Linked DNA regions of Homo sapiens: all the other regions are linked to region 1. The links are contacts of gene promoters, found by promoter capture Hi-C in blood cells and fetal thymus (Javierre and others, 2016). All regions are on one chromosome and are shown on one strand. Each heading gives the region's core, a stretch centred on a gene start or on the middle of the fragment in contact. The rest is flanking DNA. Distances are from core to core; before and after follow the strand shown.

Region 1 (2,922 bases), core at 284-2,783:
CCTAGAAGTAGAACTGCAAAACAAGGGCTTCATAAAACATATGATAACCATATATAAATGGTGATGGTGGTTAGTTTCTCCTTTTTTTATGGTTAAAGTCTTTTATCCCTAATTTTTCTTTTTTGTTGTTGTTGTTAAAGTCTCTTGGTTTCTCTTATTTTATTTTCTAAAATAACAAGGAAGTAACGATTACAAAGACACTTTTTGTACAACCCTACAATCCCAGGAAGATCTACAGTTTGCACAGGTTGGTACAGCAAATTGCTCTCTGGACCTGCCATTGAAACAGTCACCACAATAAATAAAGAAAATTCTAAGAGTCCTGCATTTGGGAAGTTTACTATCAATGGCTAGGTCTACTCTTGGTGGTATTGTGAGTGCATGGGTCCAGACTTATGATTCTGACAATTAAGGGAAAAGGAATTGTCTTTATGCTCTGTGTATTTGTGTATGTGTGTGGCATGGGTGGGGGGCGGGTAGTGGGGAGGAGGTGAAAGGTCCCTGAAGTAAAGAGGATGCACAGGACCCTTTTATTTTAGTCCCTAAAAATTGGCTTCATAACCGTTCACAGGCCACATCCCTTTTACGGGCCCTGGTTTCCTTACAAAACATAAAAGGTTTGTGTTGGAAGGGGAAAGGAGTATTTAAAGTGATGGAGGAGAGGAGCTCAAGATGGCTGAGATCTGGGCCTGTCCAACATTGAGAAATTTGGGAGGGGAGCCATCAAAGAAGCCTGGGAGCAGCAGTTCCAGGGAAAAAGGAGAATGTGATGGCCAGAGAGCCAAAAGAAAAAGTAGTTGAAGGAGTGCTCAGCACTAGGCATCTGAACTGAATGCTGTGGCAGGCTCACTGGCCACAAACAATAGGGAGCTGGTGGAGGCCTTGACGAGGACCATTTCAACAAACTGGTGGGCTTAAAATCCGGAAGAAACAGTTGAACAAATCATTTTGACGCCTTTTATAAACCACACAAGCTTATTCCAAACCCGTTACTGGCCTAACTGATTTAAGTCCCTTTCCCATCTGATCCTCAGAGATTCTAAGGGACTTAGCCTATCCATGACTCTTCGTCCTGCTTCTCACCTCCCATGATTGCCCTAACGATGTGAAAGTGCTTTCAAACAAAGATGCCCAAGAAAGAAGGTAGGCAAATGTGCAAGCATTAGTTTGTAGTACGCTATTACTGTATTTCACCTTGCACTCTCTAGTTTCCTTCGTGCTCCCTCAATATCCAACTCTTAATAAATTCATGGCTCCCGGTGAGCATTCATCAATTCTCATTCCACGCCTTTAGCCCTTCCCGTTCCCGCCCAACTCTCGCTCCCTCCCCTGGCCAAATCTCTAACCTGCAAGGCTAATTCCGAATTCCAAATCGGAAGCAAGAGGGCGGGGCCCCGTGAGAGGCGATGGATTGCTCCAGTCCGTTCCCGACGCACTGTGCGCATGCGCTGGTCCTCCGCGGACCGTTCGTGCTGCCCGCCTAGAAAGGGTGAAGTGGTTGTTTCCGTGACGGACTGAGTACGGGTGCCTGTCAGGCTCTTGCGGAAGTCCATGCGCCATTGGGAGGGCCTCGGCCGCGGCTCTGTGCCCTTGCTGCTGAGGGCCACTTCCTGGGTCATTCCTGGACCGGGAGCCGGGCTGGGGCTCACACGGGGGCTCCCGCGTGGCCGTCTCGGCGCCTGCGTGACCTCCCCGCCGGCGGGATGTGGCGACTACGTCGGGCCGCTGTGGCCTGGTAAGTGCAGGCTCTAATCTGGCCCCGTTAATTCTGGGGCCTCTTGAGAGTGGGGCTGTCTTATCTCTATCTCCAAAAATGTGCAGGTGACTCTCAGGCCAGGCCGACGGCAGTTGGAGAATTCCCAGATGTTCTTGAGGACCCAGAATGACAGGAGCCCTGGCTGGGCTTACGTTCGGAGCCGGCTTCAATACTGGCCCTTTTCTCTGGCCCTACCCAACCCGAAAATTCTGGACGCCTCTCAATCTTGGCCCGTCTCTATTGTCCTTTTGTCTCTGCCCTTTACACCCTTGTGTCTTCAGTGTTCTGTCTGTCTCTGGTTGCCTCTTTTGCCTTTTTTCTGTCCTCTCCCTGCCAGGTTTGGCTCTGTCCATGAGTCACCTCTCTCCACATTTCTCCTAACTCTCGGTGTCTTCTTTTTCTTCCATTTCCACGCCATGTGTACATTGCATCTTCAGGTACCTGGGCTCTTCTATCGGGGAAAGGGGCGTCCGTCTCTTTCCCTAGCCCGCTGATAGAAGTCAGAACTAGAGCAATGACGCACACGGTGTCAGAGACGGTGATTCGAGATGCCCTTTCAATAGCAGCTTTTTTCTGTGTTTCGGGAGGGAGACTTACTTTTTGATGCAAGGTCGTGAACGTGGCACCACCTTTCTAATCTCAATCATTGTTGCCCTGGGGTGGTTTAATTCTAAATAGAAAATCATAGAAATCTTTTCATTTCTGTGCGTTACTATATGCATTGTAATGAGATTAAATTGGATTTTATAGGAAATTTTGTTCTAGTATCATTAGATACCTTCAAGCTTAGCTCATTGTTGCAGGCATTTGATAGGAAGTAAGATGCATCAAGCAAAATTGGAAAAACGTGGTTTTCCTGAATTAACTTCTAAGCAGTTGTTTTGAATTTTTTCCAGACCTTTTTAAGTGGTATAGATAATTTATCGTGTTTATAAGGAATGGAATGCATTCGTTAGTTTGTTTTTGTTTTGTTTTGAGACGGAGTCTTGCTCTGTCGTCCAGGCTGGAGTGCAGTAGCGCTATCTCGGCTCACTGCAACCTCCGCCTCCCAGGTTCAAGCAATTCTCCTGTCTCCGCCTCCGGAGTAGCTGGAATTACAGGCACGCGCCAGCACGCCTAGCTAATTTTTGTATTTTTAGTAGAGAGGGGGTTTCACCATTTTGGCC
Region 2 (2,700 bases), core at 71-2,570, 710 kb before region 1:
AACTGACACACACACAAAATACCCTAAACGTATAGCTTTGCTGTAAGAAAACTGTACTGACCGCTACGAAGTTTGAGCTGTCTACCAGTTACCACAACCCTTCTGGGGAAAGAGCACCCTCGCTGGCAGGTGTTTGTCTCAGAAGCTGCAGAAGCTTATGTCACAAACTGGCCAAACCAAGAGAAATAAGCTATTCGGTACCTGTGGAGGCCAAGAAAGGAAGGCTTCTGGAGAAACCTGGCGGCACTGGCCAAAGAGGGCCCATCAGGTCAGATGGCTAACACAAAATTCCTGTGAAATTGTATCACTAGGGAGCTATAAATGCCACATGAGCAAAACGAAGCGGCATCAATGTTTATCTGTTCTTGTCCCCAAAAGTATTGAACTCTGGTTGTCATTCTCTGTGATATTTGCATTTTATCCCAGTCTTATAAACATTGGGATCCAAAGGAACTGTGAACCAAAAAGGATGATTCCTCTTGCTTATCCCACAAAAGAACATTTCCTAAAGGGAACTCTTGCCTGGCTACTTCCTTTATAGGACGGAATAGCCTCTGAACTCCTTGAGGGCAAGGGTCGTCTGTCTCATTCAGTTATGTATGTCTAATGCCTAACCTAAGACTTGGCACAAAACTGACATTTAGTAATTTTTTTTTTTAGACGGAGTTTCACTCTTGATGCCCAGGCTAGAGTGCAATGGCACAATCTTGGCTCACTGCAACCTCCACCTCCTGGGTTCAAGCGATTCTCCTGCTAATTTTGTATTTTTCGTAGAGATGGGGTTTCTCCATGTTGGTTAGGCTGGTCTCGAACTCCCGACCTCAGGTGATCTGCCTGACTTGGCCTCCCAAAGTGCTGGGATTACAGGCATGAGCCACTGCGCCCCGCACATTATTAAACAAAATGGCCAAATGAATGAACGTATATGCTCCTTTGCTAAAGGCAGTGACACTAAGGATAAGACAAAACACTATGCAACACTTGGAAATAAGGCAAAAGGAAGGCAGCATGTCCTTTCAATGCCATACTGGTGTACTGTCTCATAGGTGCACCCAAGGGTCATCTGATTCTCTAGGAGATGATGTACCTGTGTTTCACTGACTGTTTACCATTGGTTATGGTTCAGACTTTATGAAGTTACATGTTAACTGAGATTTTTATCCATTTTAGATGTATATAATTTCTCTGCCTGGTAGAACTAAGATCCCCAGATGTGATTGGTTTACTGCCCTACAGGACATCAACCAGTTTCCTTTTTTTTTCTTTGAGACGGAGTTTCACTTTTGTCACCCAGGATGGAGTGCAATGGCACGATCTTGGCTCACTGCAACCTTCACCTCCTAGGTTCAAGTGACTCTCCTGCCTCAGCCTCCCGAGTAGCTGGGACTACAGGTGCCCACCACCACACCCAGCTAATTTGCATTTTTAGTAGAGATGGGGCTTTGCCATGTTGGCCAGGCTGGTCTCGAACTCCTGACCTCAGGTAATCCACCCACCTCAGCCTCCCAAAGTGCTGGGATTACAGGCATGAGCCACCACGCCCGGCTAATTTTTGTATTTTTAGTAGAGATGGGGTTTCACCATGTAGGCCAGGCTGGTCTCAAACTCCTGATCTCAGGTAATCCACCCGTCTCGGCCTCCCAAAGTGCTGGGACGACAGGTGTAAGCCACCGTGCCCAGCCTGACCAGTTTCATATCTAACCTAGCAATCTTGTGCCGGTATTCTTCAGGGCCTATTAACTACACAGCTCCTCAAATGCTCTTTGAACCACTTTAGCTTCCTACTGGTTCCCTCATTAACGAGTTAAATACATCTTTGCCATGTACTCATTTTATATTTGTATGAGTCATGTTTAAAACTTTTTAAAAATTATCTATTGACAAGAAAAACATAAGAAAAGAAGATCTAGTTTGTAGCATAGCATGAGAGTAAAACATATACATAAACATTTATATTTTAGGTTAAAAATGGTAGTGTGGAAGACAGCTATTGACAGTGGCTGAAGCGTAGGGAATTTTAAACATGGCTTTTAGCTTAGTTTATAACTAGGTTTTCTGTTTATTGCCAGGAATATAAATCCTTGACAATTATCTGAAAGAATGGGGAAAAGGAAACGATCCATTAGAAGGTATCTGGAAACATGATCCAGTAGTTGTAGTTGTATCTCTGTGACAACAGAGTTCGGTGGGATCAGTAGACCAAAAGATCAGCATTCCAGTCCCAGGAATGCCTCTGTAATACTAGGAGAGTCACCTCCCTCTGAAAGCTAGTTTCTAGCTCCAAAGATACATAACTATTAAATAGTTCCCTGATCTGAGGCTTAAATCACCTTCATTCTGGCTTCCTTGATTCCCCTTTAGAGACATCTCACTGCCAGAAACAGGGGAGTCTTTTAGTCAATTTAAAATAAAAAAATAAGTTCTATTAATAGTGGTGTTGCTGCCTGAAGGCAACCATCAAATCTAGATCAAATCTCACAACCCTCTCAAGCTTGATCTGTTTCTATGGTTGACTCTCAGCATCTGAGGCTCCTTGTCACAGCAAAGTAGGTGAACATGAGTCAAAACCAGTTAGATTCACACACATGAAAAGCCATGTCCGAAGCCCTTGGCATGGGCGTATATCAGATGGGACATTCCCCTACCTTTCAAAGTTAGGGTCCAGTGTTGACGTGGTGATGTAAAACTGCATTTTCCTGC
Region 3 (2,842 bases), core at 335-2,834, 690 kb before region 1:
GGCAACTCCTCCCAGCCACAGGCCGGTCCTATAGTCCAGAGTCCAGCCCGCCAGCCTTGATTACAGATATTAGTTGTTCAGAGATCAAAATATTCATCATGCTATTCAAAGCTGTGGAAACAGCACAGGCATAAGAAAAGGTCACACTTTTTAGAGGAAAGAAACCAGAGAGAAAGAGATGAAGAACAAATCAAAAGACCAAAGCAAACACGACAGACCAAAAATACACCTTGCCTATGAGGCTATTTATTTAGCATCCTTCCTCTAATAGCAATTAAGAGAACTTCAAACTACAAGGTGGCTTTGTAACAGGGGAAATTTTCCCTACCTTGAAGCACAGCCCTCTTGGAGTGACTTCCCCTGTCTTCAAAGTCAGCAGAATCCTCCCTGGAGCACAAATGCTATGAAGCCAACTGTCTCAGGTACAAGTATCTTTCTTAAAGCATTAATTACCCAACATTTACATAACCTCCATTCCGCCCAAAAGTAAAGGCAGCATTCAGGATGATCAAGTCCCCTTTTCTTTTTGGCCCTCAGTTTCCATGTCTATAAAACGGAGGAGGGAGGAAGTCAAGCCACCTAATTTTCGAGTTTCCTGGCAGCATTAAAATTATAAGAATCTGTCCATGATTTGTACTTTGCATGGTAAGAGGTTTTATTTTGCTTTTTTAAATGAAGGCTTGAAAAAAGTTCATAGTTATTTGCCAATTTCTGCCTAAAGCTAGACTTCTTGGGTTAAATCCTCACTTTATTAGTAGCTCTGTGACTTTGGGCAAATTACTTAACCTCTCTGTGTTTCAGATTTCTCATCAGTAAAATAAGGATAATAGTACTAATAGAGTTTGGATATTTGCTCTCCCAACAACCGGTATCTCATGTTGAAATGTAATCCCCAGAGTTAGAGGCGGGCCTGGTGGGAGGTGTCTGGATCATGGGGCAGATCCCCCATGAATGGCTTGGGCCATCCCCCTGGTGACAAGCAAGCTCTCACTCTGAGCTGTTGAGAGATCTGGTCATTTAAAAGTATGGGGGCACCTTTTCCCCCACTTTTGCTTGCTCCTGCATTCGCCATGTGAAGTGCCTGCTGCCATTTTACTTCCATCATGACTGGAAACTCTCTGAGGCTTCACCAGAGGCTGAGCAGATGCCAGCACTATGCTTCCTATACCACCTGCAGAACTGTGAGCCAATTAAACCTCGGTTTAAATTACCAGTCTCAGGGATGTCTTTACAGCAATGCAAAAACAGCCTATTACAAGTACCTTCCTCATAGTGTTGGTGTTAGGACTGATTTAGCTAACATACATAAAGTAATTAAAACCACACCTGGAACACGGTTCGCAATATTTTAGTGTGGTTATTATTATTTTCAAACGTTTTCCCATTCAAAGAGAAAATGTATTCAGAAGACAGTATGCAAGGACAAACACACAGCAGGACACCGGGTTCTAGTCACGATTCTGCCCCAAACTAGCTGTATGCTGTGGATGAACTGCCACCCTTCTCTGGGTCTCAGTTTTCAGAGCAGGCTGCAAAAGAACTTTCCTGAAAGTATTCAGATCAGAGGCGATAAGTTGATAGGCAGTGTTCTGTTTGACCTACAGTTTTAAACCCCATGGTGTTTCTTTAAAATTTGATTTATTCTCAATACTTAAAATCTGGAGATTTTTCATAAAAATCCACAACATCTAAAGTTCTATCAGCCCAGACCCTCGGCCCCGGGCCCTTGGCTGCGGTTCTTAAAGTGCGGTCCCTCAACCAGCAGCAGCTGCATCACCTGGAAACTCATCAGAAATGCAAATTCTCAGGCTCCATTCCAGAGTTACAGAGTCAGAAACTGTGGAAGTGGGGCCTGGCCATCTGTGTTTCAACAAGCAGGACACTGATACACACTGAAGTTCCAGAACCACGGCAGTGGAAGAACAACGGGCAGGTGTTGAAGGGCAGTGGCCCCATCAGAAAACAGGGATGAGAGGTGATCTCCATTTACCAATGTACCCTGCCTTCCTGGCATCCCTGACTCATACTGAGGAGTCGGCATTTACTGAGCCACCCACCACACTCATCTTCCTTACCGTCCAGTCCCTGGGAGGCCTTGGGCTCCGCAGCTCTGACCTAGGTGGACCATCTTTCTCACAACGGGGTAATGAGCCCGCAGGCACCATATGCCCGTAGGATTGTGTTGTTCCAAATCAAAACTGTGTGAAAAGCAGGCTGTGCACACCAAGGGCACAGTTGAAAGAACAAACTGTTGAGTTGCCTTTATTAATCACAACACAATCCGCGCAAGCAGCTGCTATGAAGAACAGCTGCAGCTGCTAAAAGGGTGATCTTGAAGCAGCCTAAAACAGTGCTTACAGCTGAATGCCCATCAGGCACAGGCAGACTTACAGTCTGCCTCACTCAGTGCCTTTCTCCAGGCCAGAAATCATCCCCTTTCCATTCCTTGTGACAGGGTGGGATGGGGTAGAAAAGCTGTTGTTTTGTTTTTAAATTATTGCCAGCTTGGGCAACATGGCGAGATCCTGTCTCTGCAAAATATTCAAAAATTAGCCAGGCGTGGCTGGGCATGGTGGCTCACGCCTGTAATCCCAGCAATTTAGGAGGCCGAGGTGGGCGGATCACGAGGTCAGGAGTTCGAGACCAGCCTGACCAACATGGTGAAACCCCATCTATACTAAAAATACAATAATTAGCCAGGGGTGGTGTCAGGCGCCTGTAATCACAGCTACTCGGGAGGCTGAGGCAGGAGAATCGCTTGAACCCGGGAGGCAGAGGTTCAAGTGAGCCGAGATCAAGACATTGCACTCCAGCCTGAGTGACAGAGCACGCCCTGTCTCAA
Region 4 (2,889 bases), core at 289-2,788, 730 kb before region 1:
GAAACTAACGCATACACAAACACCCAACTCGGTGACATTCTGTCTATATCTACGGGACTAACGGTTGTTTTCCAAGTGGGAATTGTGATGGGGCACTAACATTAATTCTTGAATCAAAAGGAACGTTAGCACATGGTGTAAGTTTAGTTTTTTTTCTTTTTAACTCATTCATACACTTATTAAATATTTACTGAGTACTTAATATGTGACAAAACTTCTGCAGTGCCCTATGAAGACAAGGACGAAGAAGACATGATTCCTGTCCTCAAAGAGCTCACTGTCTACTACAGTCTGTTTGTGTCCCCCCAAAATTCACATTGAAATCCTAATCCCCAAGGTGATGATTATTGGGAGATGGAGCCTCCAGGAAGAGGCCAGGTCGTAAGAGCAGAGCCCTCATGAATGGGATTTCTGCACTTGAGACTTCAGAGCTCCCTTTCTCCTTCCATCAGGTGAGGACACAGTGAAACAACAGCTGTCTGTGAACCAGGAAAGGGAGCTTCGCCAGACACCAAACCTGCCAGAGCCTTGATCTTAACCTTTCCAGAAGCCAGAACTGTGAGAAATTAATTTCTGTGGTTTATAACCCACCCAGTCTATGATATTTTGTTACAGCAACCTGAATGGACTAAGACACTCCCCACCAAGAAAATGTAAAAACATAATGTGACAGATGTCTTTACATCAGTAGTGGATGCTGTGACAGAGGCATTTACAAACACAGAGGTATGAAAAAGTGAAGAATAATCCTCTGTGGCAGTGGGTATCAGGGAAAGCTTTCTGTAAAGTTTACATTTGTGCTAGATCTTTAAAAAGTAGGTGTGCTCCAGGTGAGCAAGGTAGGGAAGTACTTTCTAGGCATGTCAAAAGGCCTTGGCCTAACTCTTCCAGATACAGATAAATGTGGGGAATAAGGAGGGAAGGACAAGAAATAAACCTCAAGAGCTGTGCTGAAGTACCCCAGTTTGTGTGTGAACTGGTCCAGGAAACCCCGCAGGTGCTCAGACAGTCCTCTTTTTAATGTTATCATCATTACTGTTATTGCAGAAATGGGGTCTTGCTGTGCTGTCCAGGCTGCTCTTGAGCTCCTGGCCTCATGCAATCCTTCTCCCTTGCCCTCCTAAAGAACTGGAATTACAAGTGTGAACCACCGTGCTTTTTGTTGTTGTTGTTTTTTGACAGAGTTTTGCTCTTGTCATCCTGGCTGAAGTGCAATGGCACAATCTTGGCTCACTGCAACCTCGGCCTCCTGGGTTCAAGCGATTCTCCTGCCTTGGCCTCCCAAGTAGCTGGGATTACAGACACCCGCCACCACGCCTGGTTAATTTTTGTACTTTTAGTAGAGATGGTGTTTCGCCATGTTGGCCAGGCTGGTCTCGGACTCCTAAGCTCAGGTGATCTGCCCGCCTCAGCCTCCCAAAGTGCTGGGGTTACAGGTGTGAGCCACCATGCCTGATCCCAACTCCAATTTTTAAGAGTCATATTCAGTGACTGCCCTCTCACCCAGAGCACTGTTATTTCTACTATTTCATTTTTAGAGTGACTCCAGTTCCACATTCCTCCTCCTACACTGCTTATATACCCACCTTGCAGTTTCAATGGGAATATTAAAATACTCACAGATGAAAAACCAGACAGAAGACATCTCAGATGGTTTTCCCTCACCCCCAACAGATTTTTAATTCATTCATTTCTCCTCAATCTGGCCTACAGAGAAGGGAGAGGCTGAAATGAAAGTAACAGCTGCTTCTCAACGGTGGAGGAGCATGAGGATGTCAGTGTGTCGCGCTTGACAGCTGTGAACAATCTTAGAACATAATTATGTAACCTCCTGCATGTGGAGCTTTCCACCCTTCCAGAACACTCTCATGTGTCCCTGAGCTTTATTCTTACAGCAACCCAGGGAGCTGATCAGCATGAATGAGGCTGGAAGGAGGCTCAGAGGTAGGTGAACTGCAAGGTAGAAGATGACCCAAGATTAGCCCTCAGTCTCCTGCTCCCAGGATGCTGTCACCTTTCATAGTTTTGCTTGATTTTCATAGGAAGCATGTAGAAGGGCTTGTGGGATTGTATATTGGAGAAATGGTTCAGCAGGAGTATGTAGAAATTCAAAGTACATGCATTAACATTCCACTGGAAGGGCAAGAAGAGCAAGTACTGATTTGCTTCATCTTACAAGTAAGAGACATTTCAGAAACATGATCAAATTAACCACACCTCTGCATTCTGAATTTGGGAGTCCTAAGAAAAGAGTTAAGGATAAAGTGAGAATTGAAGCTGTAAGATGCCTGTGGCTGTGATGAAGCTTAGAGAAGCAGATTTGGTCTACCAGGCCCCCTCCCAATCTTCCCCAACCCCCACCCCATCCTCACCATTCTTCTGTGTTCAACATATGATTGTCTTTATCAGCCACCTTTAAGAAGTTGCTGATCCCTGCCTGTAATCTCAGCACTTTGGGAGGTGAAGGCAGGAGGATTGCTGGAGCCCAGGAGTTTGAGAACAGCCTAGGCAACATAGTAAGACTCTGTCTCTACAAAAAATAAAAAATTAGCTGGGTGTGGTGGCTTATGCCTGTAGTACCAGCCACTCTGGAAGCTGAGGCGGGAGGATTGCTGGGGCCGGGGAGGTTGTTGAGGCTGCAGTGAGCCATGATTGTACCACTGTACTCTGGCCTGGGCAGCAGAGGAAGATCCTGTCTAAAAAAATAAATAAATAAAAAAAAAAGAAGTTTCTGATTCCAAGGGTAATGATGAAATGAACTCATCAGAAACTGAGACTAGAGCCACTGACCCTTGTGTACCAACAGATTTTTCTTCTTAAATATCATTATTTCAAGCTAATTGTTCATCTCTAAGGCTCAGAATTTCCCCAAAATGCTCAGGTTAGGAA
Region 5 (2,792 bases), core at 166-2,665, 670 kb after region 1:
CCGGGAGGCGGAGGTTGCAGTGAGCTGACATCACGCCACTGCCCTCCAGCCTGGGTAACAGAGTGAGACTCCATCTCAAAGAAAAAAAGAGATATATCTGCATGTGACATGGAAAGAGGCTCAGAATATCAGACATTTTACTACAGATCTTGAAAACAGCTCTCCAAAACTAACTCCAGATCCACCCTGGGGTTCTCAACTCCACATGGTTTTCTAAAATTGAGACCAAGACTAAGATGAAGAGCTATGCCTCGCCCTGATGCTGCCAGGACTACTGTTCCCATGACTACCTTGAGGTGCAGGCTGAGACCCTGGGTGTCTGTGGTGGCAGAGTACAGCAGAGGAGTTGGAGTCAAAGCAGTTTGGATCCTCATCCCAGCTGGGCCTCCTGATGTTGGAGGGCCCTGGACAAAGGGTTTTCATTTGCTGGGTCTCAGTTCTCCACATGGACAACAATGCACTGTATGAGTTTTAAGGTTCTTTTCAGCTCTGACTCTCTGTGAGTCTGAATCCAGTAGGAGCTATTATTTCCTTGATTCCTCCTTACTGTTTTGTTCCCTTCTTCTCTGGTTTCTGTATTAAAACTTTATATGTTTATGAATGGATAATCAAAATGTGGTATATCCATATCATGGAATATTATACAGCCATGAAAAGGAATGAAGTACTGATGCATGCTACAACATGGATGAACCTTAAAAACACTAGGCTAAGTGAAAGAAGCCAGTCTCCAAAGACCATATGTGGTATGATTTCATTGATATGAAATGCTCAGAATAGGCAGATTTGTAGTGACAGAAAGTACATTAGTGGCTGCCTAGGGCTAGGAAGAGATGAGGAGTGACTCTCAATGAGTACAGGATTTCTTTTGGAAGTGATGAAAATGTTCAAAAATTGATTGCAGTGATGGCTGTACAACTCTGTGAATATATGAAAAACCCTTGAATTATACAATTGAAATTGGTGAATTGTATGGTATATGAATTGTATCTGAATAAAGCTGTTAAAAAAACGGGGAAGAAGTTTAAGAGAAATCCAATATATTTTAAAGCTCTGCTCATGGCATTGGAGGTTAGCCTTGAAAATTAAATCCACTCACAGTCCAACAATTCTATGTTGTTTGGGTTTTTAAATTTTTCCCTATTATTAAATTGATTCATTTGAATGTAACTACTTTAAAATCACCCCTTCTCCGAAGGTCTAATTAGCAGTCTAATGGGATCAGAAAAAGGAAAAATGGGATCTGACAAGTTTCTATGCTTGATTCCAGAGAGTTCATTGAGGTAGTTTCTCTTTTCTCTAGACTCTTTTGTTAGATTCTACTGGAAATCCTATCTGAAGAATTATTATAGAACAGTGCAGCTCATACTTTAATGTGCACACAAATAACGTGGAGATCTTGTTAAAATACAGATTCTAACTTAGGAGGTCTGGGGTGGGGCCTTGGAGTCTTGAACCTCTGACAAGCTCCCCATCGATGCTGATGCTGCTGGCCCATGGACCACACTGCAAGCTGCCAGGCTCCAGAACACTGTCTAATATGACCACTGAGCACTTGCAATGTGGCTAGTCTGAATAGGGATGTAATGTAGGTGAATGAATGAGAGAATATAAGTGATGTCAGTGTAAAATATATCATAGTTTTCAAAGACTTAGTAAAAAAAAAGAACATGAAATAATTTTTATATTAGTTGGACATTGGCATAATAATATTCTGCCCTGGGCGTGGTGACTCACGCCTGTAATCCCAGAACTTTGGGTGGCTGAAGCAGGCAGATCACTTGAGACCAGGAGTTAGAGACCAGCCTGGCCAACATGGCAAAACCGTGTCTCTACTAAAAACACAAAAATTAGCTGGGCATGGTGGTGCACACTTGTAATGTCAGCTACTCGGGTGGCTGAGGCACGAGAATCACTTGAACCCAGGAGGTGGAGATTGCAGTGAGCTGAGATCGTGCCACTGCACTCAAGCCTGGGCAAGAGAGCAAGACTCTGCCTCAATAATAATAATAAAAATATTCTGGGCACATTAGATTACATAAAATGTATTATTTTTAAAATTACAAATTTTATTTGTGAAAGAGACTGGTAGCACCCCTCTCTCAATTATTCAACTCCCCTTTTTCCTTAATAACAGATTTCCAGCTGGGCAAATGGTAGCCACATGGAATAAAGACTATATTCCCCAGCTTCCCTTCCAGCTAGGTGAGACCATGTGATATAGTTTGGACATTTACCCCAGCCCAAATCTCCTGTTGAATTGTAATCCCCATTGCTGGAAATGAGGCCTGGTGGAATGTGTTTGGACCACGGGGGCAGATCCCTCATGGCTTTTGGTGCTGTCTCCGTGATAGCGAGTTCTCACGAGATCTGGTCATTTAAAATCATGTGCTCCCCCTCACCCCGCCCACTCTCTCTCTCTTGCTCCTGTTTTCTCCATGTGAAGTGCCTGCTCCAGCTCTGCCTTCTGCCATGACTGTAAGGTTCCTGAGGCCCCTCCAAAAGCAGATGCTACTATACTTCTTGTATAGCCTGCAGAACCATGAGCCAGCTCAACCTCTTTCCTTATTATAAACCCAGTCTTGTGTATTTCTTTACAGCAATGCAAGAACAGCCTAATAAGCTGTGTGACTAATCACTGCATGAAACGGAGGGAGAGAGTTGTGCAGCTTCCAAGAACCTTCCTTAAGAGATTATGTCAGTTCACCCCTTGCCTTCTTCTTCTTCATTCCTTCCTCCATCCTGCTGACTAGAATGAAGAGATGTTGTCATCTTGGACCATGAGGTCAAGG
Region 6 (2,700 bases), core at 152-2,651, 700 kb after region 1:
AGCCCGGGACTCGGGTCCCATTGTGGCAAACAGCAGGTAGCTGAGGCAGGCCGGGTCACTCCCCAGACCCTTTTGTGCGGCCGTCCCCTCCTCCCTGCAGCTTGGTTCTGGGGATGTAAAAGGTCAGGAGCAGCCAAGCTTCCATACCTGAGCTTTTGTCTGGGGCTGGAGGCAAATGATTTTAGAAGCAATTTCTTGGAAAGCAGCCTGGAGACTCCCGTCTCCCTCGTTAAAATGCACAGCTGTACTCCTAGCCCACTCCTTGGGGCTGGGGGTGAGGGGACAGGGGGATTAGCTCAGATCATCTGGATCCAAAAATGCCCTGAGAAAAAAACTTTCTACCCAGAGGATGGTTGAGACAATTCAAATAGAAGCCTAGAGCCCTGAGATGCTAAGCAGTGTTTTGTGATAAACAGAGTGTGGTGTTCTGTCACTTTTGACTCTTCTTTGTTTTTAGTCGTAGCAGCCTGCAGCCTCCCTGCAACCTCTCTTTCCTTACCTGTCAAATAGAAATGATCCACCCTCCCTACCTGCCTCACACAGTTTACTAGTTATTCTGTGGATCCAAGGAGGTGATATAGAAACTGTTTTGCAAGCCATAAGATTCCATACGGCATTCACCATTTTTGCCCTCTGCTGGCTGTATGGACCCTGACTTGAATATAAGCCATCCCATAATGCAGTTAATTTTTCTGAAAATTATAGAGCAGAGATACAGGCAGATTTAAGGGCCTTAGGGCATGTGGTTCCAAGCCCTGCCCAAGCTTATGCTTTGCAGGTGAGGAAGGTCTCGGGGCAAGACAGGCTTTCATGGTGGTAAATTCCTTGAGGTTTGATGTAGCTCCCCTTAGAAGGCAGCTATGGGAAGCCACCTGCAGAAAGCTGGTGTGCAGATTTATGTAGGGAAAGATAAAAAGGGCCCAGGGGTGCTCACCAGCCACCAGCTTAATATAAGCCTTTGCAACCTGGCTGCCGGAAGAGCCAATGGGAGCTTAAGCTGCCTACCGGAAAGAAGGGGGTCCCCCAGGCTCCACCCAGGGTGCTGAGACCTTTCTGGACATCACATCTGGAGAGAACTGTGCAGGTACAGAATTCTGCTCAAGGGAAAGAGACTAGGATCATGAGAGGACTAGAAATCTCACTCTTACAAACACTGGCTGGGGAAGCTGAGGCTGCTTCCCCTATTTGAGAGTTCAGGGATATTCGTAGGGAAGGGGAATCGGGCTCATTCTGTGTAGCCCTAGGGACAGACACTGGGACTGCAGAGTGGAAGCTGAAATGAAAGTGTTTTGAGCACATGAGAGGAAAATATTTCAAATGCCCAGAATTTAAGAGAGAGTGAACAATCTATCACTAAGGGTAATCTAGCAAAGTGGGATACTGGGGAGAAGATTCATCATCCCTGAGCATTCATTTAGGGCTTACTCTGTGTCAGGCCCAACATGTCCTTTCTAATCATGAAATCACTCCATTCTTTGATTTATTAAGAAATATAACATTCCTTTTAAACAACCAGGTCTCACAACTCACTATCACGATGGCAACACCAACGGGGATGGTGCCAAACCATTAATGAGAAGCCAGCCCCATGATCCAAACACCTCCTACCAGGCCCCACCTGCAGCACTGGGGATTACATTTCAACATGAGACTTGGGCAGGGAAATAGATCCAAACCGTATCAACAAACATAGGCAAATCACATCTATTTTAATATACTAGCAATGAATACATGGACAACAAATATAAAATATAATGTATAATCAAGAAAATGAAATATTCAGGTGTTAATATAACATATAATCAAGAAAATGAAATATTTAGGTGTAAATATAACTAAAGATGTCCAGCACTTATGTGTTGAAAACATCAAAATGCTAATGAAAGAAATCAAAGAAAAATCTAAGTAAATGGTTGACATATGATAGTCATGGATAGGAAGAGTCAAAATAGTAATGATGTCAAATTTCCCCAAACTGATATACAGGTGCAACACAATTCCAATCAAAATCTCAGCAAGATTTCTGTAGATGTAGACAACAAGCTTATTCTAAATGTATATGAAAAAGCAAAGGGAGTTGAATAAGTAAAACAGTTTGGGGAAAATAATTTGGGAAAAGTCATATTACCTGATTTTAAGACTGATTAGATAGCATCAGTAACCAAGTCAGCATGAGGAATAGATACAAAGATCAATGAAACAGAATAGAGAACCCAGAAATGGGTCCTAGATATTCTAGGTATGAGCCCCACACAAGTAGGGCCAACTCATTTTTGACAAAGGTGCAAAAGCAATTCAATGGAGAAGGGATAGCCTTTTTAAGAAACAGTACTGGAGCAAATAGATATTCTTGGGCAAATAAGAAGAAAGAAAAAGAAAGGAACCTCAACCCCAAAATCATACCTGTTACAAAAATTAATTAAAAATGGACCATAGATTTAAATGTAAAACATAAAACTATAAAACTTTCAGAAGATAACATAAGGACAAATCTTCAGGACCTGTGGTTTAGTGAAGAGTTCATAGACCAAAAGCAAAAAAAAAAAAAAGACAGAAAAAAACTTTTAAGTGATAAATTGGACTTTATCAACACTACAAACTTTTGCTCTATAAAAGCCCCTCTTAAGAGGAAGAAAAGACAAGTTATACACTGGGAGAAAATATTTGCAAACAGCATATCTGAAAAAGGACTCATATCAT
Region 7 (2,700 bases), core at 8-2,507, 720 kb after region 1:
ATGTACATGGCCTTCCTCCAAATGAAATCTCACACAAATATCAGATTGGAGGTTTGGGAATGGGGATAAGGGGATGGGCAGAGATGAAATATGGCGTGGAACATTTATGATAAAGACAGCTCTGGGCCAGGCACGGGGTGGTTCACACCTGTAATCCCAGCATTTTGGGAAGCCAAAGCAGGAGGATTGCTTGAGACCAGCCTGGGCTACACAGTGGGACTCCGTCTCTACAAAAAATAAAAAAAAATTAGCTGGGCGTGGTGGCGCATGCCTGTAATTCCAGCCTCTCAGGAGGCTGAGGTGGGACAATCGCTTGAGCCTGGGAGGTCAAGGATGCAGTGAGCTGCGGTCACGCCACTGCACTTCCAGCCTGGGTGACAGAGCAAGACCCTGTCTCAAAAAAAAAAAAAAAAAAAAAAAGACAGTTCTGGCGTCCTGGTTGGGGAAACTCCTCCAGCCATGGAAGACCCTTCCAGCCAGCTGGGGCAGCTAGACAAGACAGCGTTGCTCTACTCGGCTGAGTTCTCCTCTCCAGAATCAACTCCCATCGCTGCTTAAAGGGAGTAATGTGGCTGTGGGGGACAGAACACTAGAGTTTCATCAGCAACCTCGTCACCCCCAACATACAAAACGCTCCTTACAAACGCAGTCCTATCTGTGCTGCTAAAGAAGGCAATCCCCCCTTCACCATCCCATCTCTTCCACTTCTGTGCATGAGAACGCATAGGCAGGAAGTATCTGATCCACACGGCTCAGATGAGAGAAAAAGGAGGAGCAGGAACAGGAAAGGAACTGAGCAGAGGAGAGACCCAGAAAGGGAAAGGTGAGAGGTGGTTCTTGCGGCTGACTTGGCAAAGCCCCAGGCCTGTGGGATTTTCCGGGACCCTCCGTGTTCTGAAAAGGCAGGGGAGGGGCAGAGAACAGCCAGGGAAGATGGAAAAGGAAACTGGTGTCCTGCCGGGTGGAAATGGGGGAGAAACTCTCGCGTGAGTGTCATCAGAGCAGCATGAGCAAGGGCTCGGTCCCAGAGGTGAGCCCGGCGTTCTGCCTGGAGGGGGCGGGCAGCAGGGCTGGCCAGGGTGAAGCAACCTGTGCCGAGCGGCTGCAAAGGCCGCGTCTCCCCAGCACGGAGCACATCACTGACGTCAAGCGCGGCGAGGCCGCGGCCAGCATTAATTAGGTGCCGATGCACGGGGGCGGGCCGGCCTGGGCCAGAAGCCGCTCCCGGAGGCTCCGACCCCCGGGGCTTCGCGCCGCCTCCCAGCCCGGAGCTCCTCCAGCCGCTGGCGAGAGGAGGCTGAACCGCAGCCGGCCTCCCAGCGGTGCCACAGCGCGCCCTAGTGGCCGTCGTCCGGAAAGCGCCGTCAGAAGAATCGCAGGCTCGCAGCCTGGGAGCCCCGCAGCCCTCATCTTCTGTCCGCCCTAAGGCTCATTGACTTCACATTAGAATCACTTGGGGAGACTGTAAAAATCCCGATGCCCGGGAGGCACCTATTCCGATTACATTAGAACCCCGACAAGCGGGCCCCAGGCCCCAGTATTTTTAAAAACTCTCTCGGTGCTTCCTATGCACCGCCCAGTTTAGAAGCTGTTGTCTTAAAGCAGTGGTTCTCAGAATTGAGCTCATGGGAGTCGCCTGGAGGGCTTGTTACATCACATATTGCTGGGCGCTACCCCAGAGTTTCTGACCCAATACTTCTGTAGCTTGGCCCTACTCGCTCTTACAAGGTTCCCAGGTGATGCCGATGCTGCCGCTCCGGGATCACACCTGGAGACCTAGTGCCAAACCCTCCTAATCAAGGCACCGACTCAGCCGGCACCGCGGGATCACCAGGGAGCTTGTTAGAAATGCAGGTTTAGAGACCCCGCCTCAGAACCATTGAGAGAGAATCTACATATTTTATTTTGCTTTTTATTGACCCATAATTGTACGTATTTCTGGGGTACAATGTGATGTTTTGATACATGTATGCATTGTGTAAAAATCAAATCAAGGTATTTAGCCTATCCATCATCTCATCTTTGCTAAAGAAATTGTAAATCTTTTCTACCTACTTTGCAATGTACAATACGGTACTGTTAACCACAGTCACCTTGCTGTGCCATAGAACACAAGAACTTCCTCCTCGCTGCAACTTTGTACTTGTTGACCAATCTTTCCCCATCCAACCCTGCTCCCAGCCTCTGGTAACCACTCTTCCACTCTCTCCTGCTAGAATCTTCATTTTCTCTAGACGCAGGTGATTCACCCAACATTAAGGTTTGAAAGTATTGCTCTAAACACCATTTGTGCAGGCCTTACACAATCAGGCTATGTTGACAGCTTGGAAGACCACTTCACATCCCCCACCCGGCCCCAAACCTGATCTCTGGATCAGAGAGCTGGATAGAATGTCCCAGATTATCTGATCCAATTCTTTTGCAGGACAGATGAGGGAAACTGAGGCCCAGAGAAGGGGATGAACTTGCCCAAGCTCCCTGGGTTCTAGGGTGGCCTGTCATCCTGGGTACCTCAAAGCTCATATGGTCATAAACAACCCCCTTCCTCCCCAGGAGGCAGCATGTGAGTTCTGCTCTTGATCCACCTATCAGGCGGCACGCACTCCAGGGGGGCTGTGGCGGCCCGGGCTCCATCCCGGCTGCTTGGGAGGGCACTGAAGCAGTGAGCAGAGACACAGGACATCGCATCAGAGAACATGG

The links. The method cuts DNA at HindIII sites, captures the fragments that hold promoters and counts their contacts. A CHiCAGO score of 5 or more calls a contact.
Region 2: a contact is called between a fragment that was not itself captured here and the fragment with the promoter of OPA1 in region 1, in 5 of 17 cell types (M0 macrophages, endothelial precursors, M1 macrophages and 2 more). The highest score is 12.2, in M0 macrophages.
Region 3: a contact is called between a fragment that was not itself captured here and the fragment with the promoter of OPA1 in region 1, in 4 of 17 cell types (M0 macrophages, M1 macrophages, M2 macrophages and 1 more). The highest score is 11.9, in M0 macrophages.
Region 4: a contact is called between a fragment that was not itself captured here and the fragment with the promoter of OPA1 in region 1, in 4 of 17 cell types (M0 macrophages, M1 macrophages, M2 macrophages and 1 more). The highest score is 16.0, in M0 macrophages.
Region 5: a contact is called between a fragment that was not itself captured here and the fragment with the promoter of OPA1 in region 1, in 1 of 17 cell types (erythroblasts). The highest score is 6.9, in erythroblasts.
Region 6: a contact is called between a fragment that was not itself captured here and the fragment with the promoter of OPA1 in region 1, in 1 of 17 cell types (fetal thymus). The highest score is 5.0, in fetal thymus.
Region 7: a contact is called between a fragment that was not itself captured here and the fragment with the promoter of OPA1 in region 1, in 9 of 17 cell types (fetal thymus, activated CD4 T cells, total B cells and 6 more). The highest score is 11.8, in fetal thymus.

The regions. Positions count from the first base shown.
Region 1 is chr3:193,591,675-193,594,596 of GRCh38, forward strand. It overlaps OPA1 (OPA1 mitochondrial dynamin like GTPase), which reads left to right and starts at 1,534. Exons shown (of 31, transcript NM_130837.3): 1 at 1,534-1,735. The coding sequence starts at 1,704. It also overlaps a transcript of ATP13A4 not described here. RefSeq lists enhancers at 1,196-1,847, 1,243-1,312, 1,363-1,412, 1,848-2,499, 2,013-2,092 and a silencer at 1,633-1,782. The HindIII fragment of the contact is 1,567 bases long and covers 973-2,539 here.
Region 2 is chr3:192,881,486-192,884,185 of GRCh38, forward strand. The region is part of intron 1 of MB21D2 (Mab-21 domain containing 2); the gene reads right to left. Among named protein-coding and RNA genes, the nearest start is that of MB21D2, 35 kb to the right of the region's middle. The HindIII fragment of the contact is 2,337 bases long and covers 153-2,489 here.
Region 3 is chr3:192,902,796-192,905,637 of GRCh38, forward strand. The region is part of intron 1 of MB21D2 (Mab-21 domain containing 2); the gene reads right to left. Among named protein-coding and RNA genes, the nearest start is that of MB21D2, 14 kb to the right of the region's middle. The HindIII fragment of the contact is 7,645 bases long and covers 1-2,842 here.
Region 4 is chr3:192,863,349-192,866,237 of GRCh38, forward strand. The region is part of intron 1 of MB21D2 (Mab-21 domain containing 2); the gene reads right to left. Among named protein-coding and RNA genes, the nearest start is that of MB21D2, 53 kb to the right of the region's middle. The HindIII fragment of the contact is 1,529 bases long and covers 775-2,303 here.
Region 5 is chr3:194,257,795-194,260,586 of GRCh38, forward strand. No RefSeq gene overlaps it. Among named protein-coding and RNA genes, the nearest start is that of LINC02036, 9.0 kb to the left of the region's middle. The HindIII fragment of the contact is 5,890 bases long and covers 1-2,792 here.
Region 6 is chr3:194,286,941-194,289,640 of GRCh38, forward strand. No RefSeq gene overlaps it. Among named protein-coding and RNA genes, the nearest start is that of LINC02048, 12 kb to the left of the region's middle. The HindIII fragment of the contact is 1,279 bases long and covers 763-2,041 here.
Region 7 is chr3:194,314,509-194,317,208 of GRCh38, forward strand. No RefSeq gene overlaps it. Among named protein-coding and RNA genes, the nearest start is that of LINC00887, 3.1 kb to the left of the region's middle. RefSeq lists a silencer at 1,006-1,345 and enhancers at 1,050-1,550, 1,416-1,465. The HindIII fragment of the contact is 3,891 bases long and covers 1-2,700 here.